Linked DNA regions of Homo sapiens: region 2 is linked to region 1. Evidence: promoter capture Hi-C in human tissues and cell types (Jung and others, 2019). All regions are on one chromosome and are shown on one strand. The core of a region is centred on a gene start or on the middle of the fragment in contact, and the rest is flanking DNA. Distances in the headings are between cores, read along the strand shown.

Region 1 (6,650 bases), core at 1,010-3,509:
GGCAAAGATTTCACGACAAAGATGCCAAAAGCAAAAATTGACAACTGGGATCTAATTAAACTAAAGAGCTTCTGAACAGCAAAAGAAACTATCAACAGAGTAAACAGACAACCTACAGAATGGGAAAACAATTTTGCAAACTGTGATCTAACAAAGATCTAATATCCAGCATCTTATAAGGAACTTATATTTACAAGAAAAAACCAAACAACCCCATTAAAAAGTGAGCAAGGGACATGAACAGACACTTTTCAAAAGAAGACATATATGTGGACAACATTCATATAAAAAAAGCTCAACATCACTGATTATCAGATAAATGCAAATCAAAACCACAATGAAATACCACCTAACACCGGTCAGAATGGGTATTACTAAAAAGTCAAAAAATAACAGATGCTGGAGAAGTTGTGGAGAAAAAGGAACACTTTTACACTGTTGGTGGGAGTGTAAATTAGTTCAGCTATTGTGGAAGACAGTGTGGTGATTCCTCAAAGACCCAAAGACAGAAATATTGTTTGACCCAACAATCGTATGACTGGGTATACACCCAAAGGAATATAAATAATTCTATTATAAAGACACATGCACACACATGTTCACTGCAGCACTATTCACAACGGCAAATATATGGAATCAATCTAAATGCCCATCAATGATAGGCTGGATAAAAAAATATGGTACATATATACCATAGAATACTATGCAGCCATAAAAAAGAATGAGATCATGTCTTTTGCAGGGACATGGATGGAGCTGGAGGCCATTATTCTTAGCAAACTAACACAAGAACAGAAAACCAAACACTGCATGTTCTCACTTATAAGTGGGAGATAAATGATGAGAACACATGGACGCATAGAGGGGAACAGCACACACTGGTGCCTTTTGGAGGGCGGAGGGTAGGAGAAGGGCGAGGATCAAGAAAAACAACTAATGAGCACTAGGCTTAATACCTGGGTGACAAAATACTCTGTACAACAAACACCCATGACACAAGTTTACCTATGTAACAAACTGAACTTAAAAGTTAAAAAAAAAAAAGAGGTTCTTATTATGTTGCCCAGGCTGATCTCAAACTTCTGGACTCAAGTGAACTTCCACCTTGGCCTCCCAAAGTGCCTGGCCTTAGATATTCATACATTTATTTATTTTTAGAGATGTGGTGGGGGTGTGGGGGGTCTCTCTCTGTCACCTGGGCTGGAGTGCAGTGGCCCCATCATAGCTCACTGAAGCCTTGAACTCCTGGACTCAAGCAATCCTCCCACCTAAGCCTGCCGAGTAGCTGGGACTACAGGAGTGCACTACCATGCCGGGCAAACACACTGATTTTAAGTACAACTGTGTGCTTTCAGTCTTAAGATCTTCAGCTTTTGAAGGACCTCAGCCTTCCTCTAGTTCTAACTCCTCTCGTTCTAAGGAGATCCTTCCCATTCCTGCAGAACGTCTCCCCAACCCTTCTTCTTCACAGTTCTCCCTCCTATCCCTGAACCATTGCAAGAGGTTTTGTGCCAAGCCTCTGGCACATGGCACATTCTATCTCATGTTGTGATTTCGTTTTCTATGCACGTGCTCTCCTTCTAGCCTGGAGGTGAGCTGCTTAAGGGCAAAGAGCTCATGTGTAGCCCTTCCTTGTACCCATTGTCCTATAGCAGGTGCTACCTAGGGGGTGCTCCAGTAGCTTCCTTGAATGAACCAAAGAGAAGGGGTGAAGGGGGGAGTCAGTTGCCTAGGAGCTTGCATGGACTTCTGTGTCCTGGAACCAGCCCGGAGCTGCTGGAAGATGCTAGAAGTTGGAATCCTATCTCATTTCTAAACATCTGCTCCCACTCATCTCTTTCCAGGGTCATCAGTTATCCCCACTCCTCCCCCCCGCCCCCACTTTGTATAAATGAGCCCCTCACATCCCTCCATCTTCTCCATCACTGTGTGGTCACTTCTTAAATCATGCGTCTGGAAGGCGCCCTCCTGTACCCCATCCTGGAGGCTTCCTGCACTTCCCCTCTTGTTTCTTCCAGAAATGAGTCAGAGTGAAAGCAAACTTTCTGAGGTCCTGAGATCCCGGAGACAGGCTGTGAGGGCCGCTGGCCCCGCCCGCTCCAGCAGCGTGTGTGTGTATGTCTGTGTGTGTGTGTGTGCGCGCGCGCGCGCGCGTCAGGGGCCAATGCTGGAAAGGAAACAGCGGACTCGCTGAGGAGAAGAAAGGAGCCGCCCCCTTCGTCGCCAGCCCCCTCCCCACTTCCCGTCCAGCGCGCTGCTCCCTTCCCCCCGCCTCTGGCCTCGGGGAAGGAGCAGGAGGCAGCCCAGGCGGAGCGGGAGGAGCTGGCAGCGGGGCGCATGCCAGGCGGGGGTCCTCAGGGCGCCCCAGCCGCCGCCGGCGGCGGCGGCGTGAGCCACCGCGCAGGTAGGGGAGCTGCCACAGAGTCCTAGCACGTCCTGGGGGGGTCCTGGCAAGGAGGGCGCGCTCTGGCCCCCAGGAAGTCGCGTAGGTCAGGGCGTGCCTCTGTTAACAACCCCTTTCGAGGTGAGGGAAACTGAGGCAGGACGCGAGGCGTGCGAGGTTGAGAGAAGAGCGAGTCTTGGGCTGCCAGCCCGGCACCAGCGCCGAGCCGGGCCAGGTCCCTGACCCAGGACTGTGCAGCGATCCCCGGGACCCGCAGTTTGCGAAACTGTAGGAGTCTGACCCGCGCCCCCGCTGCGTGTCCAGGTGACCGGGAAAGGTTGCAGAGGCGTGCTTGGGGTTTGGATCCGTCCCCGTCCTGGGACACCTGCGCCGCCTGCACTCTCGTTGCGGTGCGCCCCAGCCTGCGCCCCCTCGGGACAGGGGACGTCCCGCCCGCCTTAACCCCAAGACCCAGCTGGATCTCGGGTTCCACCCCTTCGGGGACCTGGAGGGAGGAGGCTGGGAGCGGGACCAGGAACTGGTGCCTGTGCCTTCCCTAGGGGCTGCTCTGAAATCAGTGTCACCGCCCACTTCCTACTTGGCTACAGTAACGGGGATGGCCCAAGCCGGAGACTGCTCGGTTTCCACCGCCTGGAGCGCGGGTCTCGCTGTCAACTCTTAGTGATGATTGTGGATGGTTGTTTTTCAACAATGACAGGACTTCTACCTTCTCACTCTTAAAATGTGAGGTTTTCCAAAGACAGTGAGATTTGGAGTTAGGGAGTGCTGCCTTGTGTTCTTGCTGGGTGAGGACAGGGCTGGGTCAGTCGCTTAACCTCTCAGAGCCTCAGTCTCCTGAAATGTAAAGGAGAACACTCATAGCCTGGCCTCCATGTGTCGTTAGGTTTGTTGTATGGGAAATCAATTTGCAAAGTGTTATCATCAACTGGACAAATTTGAATTGGACAGCACTAGGACCATAGGAACTGGGGTTTGGAGACAGTCTGCCTGCATGTCAATCCTGGACATGCAGGAGACTATGACAGTACCTGCTTCATAGGGTTGTTATGCGGTTTAACTGTGATGGTGGAAGTGAAGCACCTCGCCCAATGCCTGAAATACCCAGTGCACTCTCAAAAAACCTTAGTTGCTATTTTTCCTAGGCAAAATCTAAATAATTGGGAGTAATGTGAGAATACCAGTTTGATTTGATTAATGCAGGAATAGTAGGGCATTTAAAAACACATGTAGTTCTCCTGTGCTCGGCATGGTACATGAAGTCCTCTGAGGTTCAGTTCTGTGCCACAGAGCAAAAAGAACCGTGGACAAGATACCCGCTTTTCGGGCTCTTTGACTTTGAGCCTGTTTTCTCATCTGTTTACAAAAAAGATAAAAGAAAAATGGGGGTAGTAATTACTGCCTTTTGTACTGATCGCATTGCCTGAGGATTAAATGAGGCAAAAGATCTGAAAGCACCTTGTGGAGTATGAGTCACTATGCACATATAAGACATGATAGTACTAGGAGGGAATGGTAACATCTGCAGGTTTTTAGAACTTACAATGTGCCAGACATTTTATTATGAATTCCTTTGATGAAATCCTCCCTGCATCTTTATGGGACTGGGATTACAGTCCTCATTTCCCTATGACAAAGCTGAGGTTCAGGGTCACCCTGCTTGGTTCCCAAGCTCACAGAGCTCTTAAGTGTAAAGCCAGGATTAGAACCCTGGTGTGGGTGCCACTCACAACTGTGTTCTTGGCCGCTTGCCAAACTGAACTTATAGAGTGGAGCTGTGATTCAGAACAGACCTATATTAGAATTTAGGTAATTTTTTTTTCTTTAGGAGACAGAGTCTTGCTCTGTCACCCAGGATGGAGTGCAGTGGCACAATCATGGCTCACTGTAGCCTTGAACTCCTGGGCTCAAGAGATCCTCCTGTTCCAGCTTTTTGAGTAGTTGGGATTACAGGCGCATGCCACCATGCCCAGCTAATTTTTTTTTTTAGAGTTGGAGTCTTGCTATGTTGCTCAGGCTGGTCTCGACCTCCTGGCTTCAATCATTCCTCCCACTTTGGCCTCCCAAAGCGCTAGGATTACAGGCATGAGCCACCAGGCCCAACCTCCATCCTGCATATCTATAGACCCAAAATGTAAGAGTGAACTGTTAATCCTGGCAAAAGAGGCTTTGGCATAATTTTAATTTCCCTCAGACTTATTTTATAAAATATACTTTAAACTATCTTCTTGTAAAACAAATGATGACAATTTGCAGAAAAGTTATTAAAACATTGAAAGAACAGGTTGCAAGATCTCATCACAAATCTCTAAGTGGTATCTGGATTGTTTTGTTTTGTTTCAACACTCATTTGCCAGAACCCTTAGGATAGCACATGAGGTGTAACCGGAAATCGAGGCGTTGGGTGTCATGGTTACTTTGCAGGGCTGGGCCCCGGGACTTTTCTGCAGGAAGTTCATTGCTCACCCAAGATGCCTCCAGAAGAAAGCAGAAACTTCCGAGAGGAGCGTGAATGCTCTGTTTCTGTGCTGCAGAAACAATTCCTAGTTTATTTGTTTCCTAAATTAAGTTTATCTTATTGGTTTTTGTTTTTCCAAAAGCAATGCATGCTCATTACAGGAAGCACAGAAAGCTACAAACAAGTAAGTGAACACTAAAAAATACTGTAATCTCACCAAGGTAGACAAATAGCTTGGTGTCTCTGTCCTTGTAACCCATTTCTATGCTGCATGCATCCATCCAAAAGTGAGAGGCAAACTATTATTGTTTTTTGTTAAATGACAAAAATAGTACTTGCTAATTGCTCAAACATTATGACATTAATGTAGAACAAAGCCAATTTATTATGCTCATTAAAACTTTTTCTTTTTTTAAAATCTAAAAATTTTGATTGGAGAAGGATTAGAGACTAAATTGTTGATATTTGAATTTTATTGTGGTTTTGGTTAAAGTTTGATGCAGGACCTTCAGAGCAAAGAGAGGGTACAATGGTGACCTTTAAACAATATATATATTTTTTGAGACGGAGTCTCGTTCTGTCGCCAGGCTGGAGTGCAGTGGCACGATCTCGGCTCACTGCAACCTCTGCCTCCTGGGTTCAAGCGATTCTCCTGCCTCAGCCTCTCGAGTAGTGGGATTACAGGCGCCCACCACCACATCCAGCTAATTTTTGTATTTTTAATACAGACAGGGTTTCACCATGTTGATCAGCATGGTCTCGATCTCCTGACCTTGTAATCTGCCCGCCTCAGCCTCCCAAAGTGCTGGGATTACAGGCATGAGCCACTGCGCCGGGCCCTTTAAACAAGATTTAAAGACCAGCACACAAAGTTTCTGAGTACAAAAAAAGGTAATATTTTAGGTTAGGGTCATTAGACCAGAATTAGAATCATTCTTTTTTTTTCTTTTTTTAATTAAAAAAGATGGGGTCTCCTTATTTTGGCCAGATTGACCTTGAGCCTCAAGCAACTTCTGCCTCGACCTCCCAAAGTACCAGGATTACAGATGTGAACCATTGCACCTGGCCAGAATCATTCTTTTGATAATAATGATGGTAATTGAGTTTATATGCTGTGTTCTCATGAATCCAAGCAGAGCCCACTGTTTCCAGAGATTCCCTTGGCAGCCACCCTGGGTTGAGGAGGGTCCCCTCCTGGCACAGCTGGAACCACCGGTGAAGAGCCATTTTTCAGTCAGCACCGTTTAGTAATATAAGACTTTTAGCCTCGAGGAGTCTTCCGTTGTTAGTTCCTAACTTTAATGACTTTGTGGTAAAAATTCCTTAGCGAATGACTTCTGTGCAACAATCATGTAATTTTTAAAATTCCAGATGCTTTAGCCGTTCAGAATCCATTTTTTCTTTCAAAACCAGAGTTCACCAGCTGTTTCTCTTGAGCGAAGACTTTGCAATGAGCTTTCAAATGTTCACACCAAGTAGAAGCAGGAAGGGAGAACTGTGGCTGGGCAATGAATGAAATACTGACATTTAGCTGTAGAAGGTAGGCAGGGGCTCACATGGTGTGCACAGCCCCTTATATGACTACTGGTCCTGTATCTGCTTCCTTTCCCTGCCCCATTTCCCCTTTGGCTTTTTGTCATGACTCAGAAATGGATGCTAGACATTATGGGGCTCCCTCCAGTCACTCGGGTCACTCGTCACAGACTTATAAACAGAATCACAGAACTTATTGTCAGATGAAGCTTCAAAACACCAGTTGGCTAAACTCCTTGTGTTCTGGCAGGTAAGATG
Region 2 (7,640 bases), core at 4,638-7,137, 93 kb after region 1:
CTGGAATGAGCAATCCCAAATGGAAAATAAGAAATAATTCTATTTATAATAGCATTTAAAATAATAAAATACTTGGAAATAAATATAACCAAAGAAGTGAAAGACTTTTACATTAAAACATGTAAAATAGATTTTACCTTGAAACATGTAAATAGAGTTTACACTGAAAAATGGAAAATAGCCCAGAAATACACCCATATATCTGTGTCCAGTTGATTTTTGACAAGGGGTGCCATGTCCATTCAATGGGAGAAAATAGTTCTTTCAACTGATGGTGCTGGGGCAACTGGATTTTCACATCCAAAGAATAAAGTTGGACTCTTGTCTCACACCTTAAACAAAGTTTAACTCCAAACTGTGCAATGATTATGGATAAAAGTTTGGTGGTTCTTCAAAAAGAGAAACATAGAATCACCATATGATTCAGCAATTCTACTCACAGATATGTATGAAACAGAGACAGAGAGAAAGAGACAGAGAGATGGAGATGGGGGAGAGAGACAGAAAGAGAGAAGAGAGAGAAACAGAGAGAGAGGAGAGAGAGAGAAAGAGATAGAGAAAGAGACAAGGAGAGACAGGCAGAGAAGAGAGACAGAAAGAGAGAGATAGGGATTGAGAGAGAGAGAAAGATATAGGGAGAGAGAGAGAGAGAGAGACAGAAGGAGATGGAGGAGTCTCTTTCACACATATGCACATACACAGTATGCTGGAGGAAGCTCTATCATCTTTTATGAATCTATCTTAAGAAATTATGTTGTTACTTCCACCACATGGATTCATTTGAAACAAGTCATCAAAGTTGTCCCATCTTCAAGGGGAGAAGAATTAGACCATTTTTTTGATGGAAGAATGTCAAAGAACTTGTGGGCATATTTTAAAATGATCACACCACTTTATTCCATGTGGCAATTGAAGACTTTTGAATTAACAACACACGACTAGAGAAGAAAAAGAGACTTCCCCTCTTGGATCCAGTATGAAAACCTTCAGGAAAGGATTGGGTTAGGTGCTGACTCCTTGGACCAATGACCATAACCAAAGGGATGAGGTACTGTAATTAGCCAAGCCTGGCTACCTGTCTGTCTCTGTGATGAGGTGGGTACATCTGTTAGGAGAAGATGGGGGAACTGGTGCAGTGCAGATAAAAATAGTAGCTAGTATGCTTATTGCCTAGTGAAACATGCACACACGAAGCAATTAGGAATGATTGAGAGCAGCATATGAATTTAAAAATGAGGGATGTTAAAAATGCATAAAGAAGATTAAAATGAAAACACTCCTTACAGAGTTCATTCATTTGGTCAATACAGTCATTTCCATCCCAAAACCTGGTCTTACATGTTAGCTTGAAGGTGCCTCTTGCAACAGATTTTCCAGAGACTTTTGTCTGATCTTTACTGGGACCAAAGTAACCTTTGATTGTCTCTGACTGTGGCTGTTTTTCCGGGAGCTTTATGTGCTGGGCTCAGGAAAAGTTCAACCCATCAATAGGTTATCACATATATATACTCTGGGACTGATTGGACCACATTTTCTCACTGAATTGACTGATTGATGAATTCAGTTGGCAGAATTAACTCTTCTATGTCTACATGAAGTGCCATTTAGAAATAATCAACTCTTAATCAGCCTGGGATAGTCAGTACTAAAAGCACCTTCATGAGCTGTGAAAAATTTAATGCATTTATTTACATATTTAGTTTTAAATTTTAGTATATTGTTAGTTGAGGTATAGTTTCCAAACAAAGAGCCGTGAAATGTTTAGTAACTGTCTCTGTACCTCTGGATGAGGACAGCTCAGCCGGGAATGGAGGGGGACTGGGTGAGGAGACCAGAATGTCAGTGTGGCCACGCAGCACACTTTTGTTTTGTCTTCTGTCCTTGAGCACTGGCTTGTTCCTGGATAAACTAGGCATAATAATACCTATCCTGCTGTGTGGGTGGAAGGTTAAATGTGATAATGATGTGTGTGAGATGCCTGCACAGTGCCTGGAGGTATTGAAGAATTATTTGCTGCCTTTTCTTTTTCTACCTACCACTTACCCGCTACCCCCGGGTGCTACATGTTAGAAAACACTGTGTAAAGTGTGGATGCTTCTGAAAAATCTCCCTGCCAGCAGTTAGTGCCAATAGCGTGCAGAAAATAAGATGCAATGATTTGGCTTCTTTTCTGTTTGGCAATAAGAAGCTTATTTGCACATAGCCTGATTTCTTTCAATCTGCAAAAAAAAAAAAAAAAAAAAAAAATTGGAAATGAAGTAAAGCAATATATATTAAAACATGCAAATTATAAAGAAGCATTTAAAGCTTGACTACTCTTCACATTGTCGTATGGCAAACTATTTTTTTTATCTGCAGTCTAAATTTCATGACCTAGAATCTCTCGTTTTCTGCCTGATGCTTTGTTGCATGACATTGGATGACATTGAGAAAATGAAATTGAAACCCTGCTTGGGCTTTGAAAGAACTGGCAATCCTGCTTTTAAGAGTGGAAGGAAAAAAAATGGAAAGGGAAGGAGGAAAATGGGACATACATGGAATACTAAAGACAAGACTGAAGAAAGAGAGGTTGAAAGCTCTCTCTCTTCTGATTATGTTTCTGTGGGTCTCTACTGTTTTGTGGCCTTCACCCTCATGGGCAGAGAAGGCTAAGGTGTAATTCTCAGGTAACCATTTAATCTTTCCATTTAAAATGGTCATTTACAAACATGGAGTCCATTTCCTTTGCATAATGGCAACGAGATGGCGCCTGTGCTCCTTCGTGGAATTCCTTGCTCTGGGTGATGGACTGGACAGCTAATTTGTTTTTATAAAGTGTCTGGGCACTTAATTAAATCTTGCATCCTGTCTAATAAAAAATCAATATCAAATCCACTACCAACACGTTCTGGATGGCAGAGAGGCATGCCAGAAGAAAATCTTGAGTGGCGGTTCCTTCCAGATTTAGCAAGCTCTGCAGTTTGTGTTTGGCTGTTCTCTCATCCTGTTGCTTGGCCCAGCTCCTATTCCTAAGTCAATGAGGGCTTCAAAGCATGGTGTGAATGCATCAGCTGCTCTAGAGGTCCTGTCTTTGGGAGATGAATTGTGGCCCATTAAAAAAAAGTTCTCTAGGGAAATGTGAATAAGTTTCCTGCAAGTCTCGGAAATAAAAACCTTTATGGTATATAAATATTTGAAGGTTAACAAGGTCTTCAGTTGGAGGAAGGCAGGCCCTTGGCAGAACCAAAGGGCATCTCACGAGTGGGTAGAAAGTTATAGGAGGGATTGGTCTTTTCTGCTTTGGTGTTGGTAGTGGTAGCTGGGGGTCTCTAGGCTGATTGTGTATGATCTGGAGTCTGGAGCCTTGCTACAGTTTGAACTGGTCAGAAAAGCCAAGGCCCGCCTCCCTCTGCTGACTCTGTCTCACTGAGCCATAGGCGTGGGGTCCTGCATTGGCCATTTCAGTTTTGCTTGTTGATGAGGAAAGGTAGATCAAGTGGGTCAAGGTGGCAAGGGTCATGTATTCAGAGTAGGGACTGAGTGGAGTTGGAAAATAAGCAGCAGTGAAGAAGAGAGATCACTCCAGCAATCTTCTCACTGCCAAAAGTCTCCAGGTCCCATAGACTGAGCACCATTCAATAATTCTATGTGTTGTATGAACGCATCAGACAATTCCACAACCTCCTTACTTCATTTGCCTGCTTGTCATAGTGCGAGAATTGCTTTCATTGTCCATTTGTTTCTTGACAGTCAAATCTCTTCATTAATAAAAAAAAGACTTGAATTCATGGCACCATTTTATTTTCCAATACTATTGTATAGAATGTCCAAACTAAGATCTAAAGACTATCTTTTTCCCACCATCCCTCTAGAAGTTCCTGATCTTTGTTATATCTCAGCCCAGCTCCTCTTGCCATATCCCCTATTACAATGAATGGCAAGTCAAGCAGAAAAAAGCCTGTGGGTCATTGTGGACTTTCAGCTCTCCCGGGACATGAGCCACTACACCTTTTCGATTTTATCTCTTAAGTATCTCTTCCTTCTGTCCTTTGATCTCGTAAGTGTTGTCTGGACACACGCACTCGCCTCTTAATGGGTCCTTGGTTTCTATTTTCATCCCCCTCCAAAGCATCCTTCGATCATCCTTCAATCCCTTTCCAATCATCCTTCATGTTGTAACCAGTCTTCTTTCTAAAACTCATTTACAATTGCTTTTCTACTTCATCTCTCTGCGTGACTAATGTCACTATCAGGACAAATGTTAAATATGGCCTGCCATAACCAGCTTCTTGCCCTGGCCCTTGCTTAGCTTTCTAACTTCATTTCTTGCCATTCCTTCCCCACTTCAAGCAACTTTCTCTCTCTTTTTTTTTTTTTTTTTGAGTTGCAGTTTTGCTCTTGTTGCCCAGGCTGGAGTGCAATGGTGCAATCTTGGCTCACCACAAACTCCGTCTCCCGGGTTCAAGCGATTATCCTGCCTCAGCCTCCCGAGTAGCTGGGATTACAGGCATGTGCCACCACACCTGGCAAATTTTCTATTTTTAGTAGAGACGGGGTTTCTCCATGTTGGCCAGGCTGGTCTCGAACTCCTGACCTCAGGTCATCTGCCCGCCTCGGCCTCCCAAAGGGCTGAGATTACAGGCATGAGCCACCGCACCTGGCTGCAACTTTCTCTTTAGTCCCTTGGTAGTTCCCGAAGGCATACTGCCTTGTCCACTGTTTAGTACCTCTGCCTGCACTTACCACCTCCTTCTCCTACTAGGTCATCCAGACTTGGTTTCTGGTTGGTCATGGTGTGGCTCATGCCACAATCCTAGCTTTTTAGAAGGCTGAGGTGGAAGGACTTGAGGCCAGGAGTTGTAGACCAGCCTGGGCAAATAGCAGGACCCCATGTCTATAAAATTTAGCCAGACATGGTTCTGTGCATCAATAGACTCAGCTACATGGGAGGCTGAGGCTGGAGGATTGTTTAAGCCCAGGAGGTCGAGGCTGCAGTGAGCTATGATCACACCACTGCACTCCAGCCTGGGTGACAGAGCAAGACCCTGTCTCCAAAAAAACAAAAAAGACTTGGTTTCAGTGCCCCTTCTTTTGAGTGCTTGGTATATTCTCTATCCTCATACATATTGTGTTTTAGCATAGCTATTGGCTGTCCTCTTGGCTAAACTGTTAGCCTCCTAGGGAAAGAAAGAGACCCTATTCATTTTTACTCTTTATCCCCAGAACTTAGCATAGTGCTTGGTCAAAGTAGCCTCTCAAGAAGTGGTTGTTGGATGAACAAGTGAATTCATCTTATTATCACTTATCATCTTATTATCATTGTTACATTATTAATAGCTGATAATTCTACTAACAATAGAATTATAAAGCATTAGCGCTTTTCAGGTCAACCTTGTTAAAAACCTGACTGCAAAGTTCAATTCTGCCATTTGCTAGCTGTATAAGCTTGGACAAATTATTCTTTCTAAGCTTTATTTTTTCTATCTATAAAATGGGATAATAGGGTTGTTTGGAGAATTAAATGAGATGGTGCATGCTAAATATTTGGGTTATGTATCATTCAGAATGAATGTTTGTTAAATTATACTCACTGGTAAAATATTTAGGTATTTTAGATCTGCTAGAGATAGGCTTTTTAATCTCTTTGTGTTTTTTTGTTCAAATGTATTTGCGAACTGATTATTTTCTTAGATAATCATTTTCTTAGATAACCTTAGCGCACCTAATTTGATGCCTGTTGAGAGTAGAGAGAAACCAAAAAGCTCACAGCAGAAGGACTTTTTCATATGTCACAGTAGACAAACAAAGTTATTTTCCGTCACAGCCATGTATTGGGTGGAATGACCTTTAGTAGCTGATGACAGCGATGTAGCAGAAGGGACAGTTTTCCACTTGACCTTTATACAATGTGCCAGCTTGTCTCATAACACAAAATAAGTTGCAATTGACAGGCTTGATAGAACACTAACCCGACAGGAGACAGACACTGAAGCAGCCCCTGTTTGCTACCGAGCGTGGCAACTTCCATATACCCAAGGGTGCCTTAGGGATGACTACTCCCTAAGTCATGGCCAGAACATTTAGTGTAATTAGTTCCTCTAGGAGTTTATTGTGAGGTGAGATTTGCTCATAATGAATTTTCATTGCCAAGGACTTGGTTACTCGCAGGTACCCCACTATAGTCTTTTGACTTTTCTGTCTTTGTAAGCTGTCTTCCTCTCCTCTTTGCTCTTTGCTTTTACCATAGGATGTTTTCTTCTTTACTCTTTTTAATTTTTTTTCTTTAAGACAGGGTCTCGCTTTGTTGTCCAGCTGGGGTGCAGTGGCATGATCATAGCTCACTGCTGCCTCAAATTCCTGGGCTTAGGCGATCCTCCTGCCTCAGCCTCTCAAGAAGCTGGGATTACAGGTGCATGCCACCACACTTGGCTAATTTTAAAAATTTTTTATAAAGACGGGGTCTCACTATGTTGCACAGGCTGGTCTTGAATGCCTGGCCTCAAGCGATCCTCCCACTTCGGCCTCTCAAAGTGCTGGGATTACAGGTGTGAGCTGCTGCACTCGGCCTCTTCTCAGCTTTTCTAATGCTTCATTTTTGCCGTTCCCTAACTTGACTACTTTTAGTTTTCTACCACTGGGTGATTTTTTTCCCTTGGGGCTTTCTGCATGAGGGCTAAAATGTGAAGTTCTTAAGTTTGTTCCTTCTCCCAGATAGTCACAGGGCAGAAGTGGTTCTGAGCAGCAGGTAGGAAACGTGTTGTCGTTTCGTTTACAGGTTTGTTGGAGGAAGTTGCTACCAGTCATCTCACTTTGCATACCTAGTTCTGACATTGACTGCATTAATAACCACAGGTAATTTACTTTACCTCTGCAGGAAGTCACTGGAAGGGTTACATTTTCATTTGGGGTGAACAGCAACTGTGGATACGGATCATGAAAATTGACAATGGAAAATGGGCATGCCATTCTGGAACTTTTCCCAGCTTTTTTCCAGAGCCAGGTCTGTCCTGATGTGAGAAATGATGTCCTCATCTGCCAAATGAGTACAATAACATTAGCTCTACCTACCTTGCTGGGCTGATGAAAGAAACAGAGGAAATAATACATATAAAAACTGTGCTGATTGAAAGGAGCTATGTCAACATATTAATTCAGGCTGTCCCTGGTTGGAGTATTGTGGATAATGTTATCTGCTTTTTATTCTTTTCCACACTACAGATGAGAAAAAAAAAGAAAAAAAGTTTTTAGGAGAGAAAAAATTAGAAGAAAATGTTTAAAAATACTCTCTGGAAAGTTAGAATTCTAATAAAATCCTTAGTACCACAGTTGAGGATTTGGCTTCATGCTCCAAGTAAGTAAATCTGGCTGAGATTAATATTTGATGCATATTTATGAAATCAGATATATCAAAACTGTATCAAAAGATATAAATCTTTTATTTTTCTTAAAGACCTTATACAATGAAATGTTCATTTATATCATATGGACTTGGGGCAGCAACAAAAACTTGGCAACCTGGGGTTGCTGATATTTACAGCTGTTCAACATTTTTTGGATCCATGTATTCTCTTCAGAACACCAGAAGGCTGTGCTTTTCAAATTGTGTTCTGAGGAGCCTCAGAGATGCCTTAGGGAAGGCTGAAAGGGAAGCTTCATCCAGA

Evidence for each region. Contacts are between HindIII fragments. The study calls those that stand out against the background at their distance.
Region 2: a contact is called between a fragment that was not itself captured here and the fragment with the promoter of DISC1 in region 1, in 2 of the 25 tissues and cell types used here (H1 embryonic stem cells and IMR-90 fibroblasts).

Annotation. Positions count from the first base shown.
Region 1 is chr1:231,624,531-231,631,180 of GRCh38, forward strand. DISC1 (DISC1 scaffold protein) reads left to right here and starts at 2,260. Exons shown (of 13, transcript NM_018662.3): 1 at 2,260-2,404. The coding sequence starts at 2,338. All of the region lies in intron 5 of TSNAX-DISC1 (TSNAX-DISC1 readthrough (NMD candidate)), which reads left to right. RefSeq lists silencers at 2,156-2,415, 2,746-2,805, 3,779-3,979. The HindIII fragment of the contact is 12,044 bases long and covers 1-6,650 here.
Region 2 is chr1:231,714,094-231,721,733 of GRCh38, forward strand. The region is part of intron 3 of DISC1 (DISC1 scaffold protein); the gene reads left to right. All of the region lies in intron 7 of TSNAX-DISC1 (TSNAX-DISC1 readthrough (NMD candidate)), which reads left to right. Among named protein-coding and RNA genes, the nearest start is that of DISC1, 91 kb to the left of the region's middle. The HindIII fragment of the contact is 4,044 bases long and covers 3,866-7,640 here.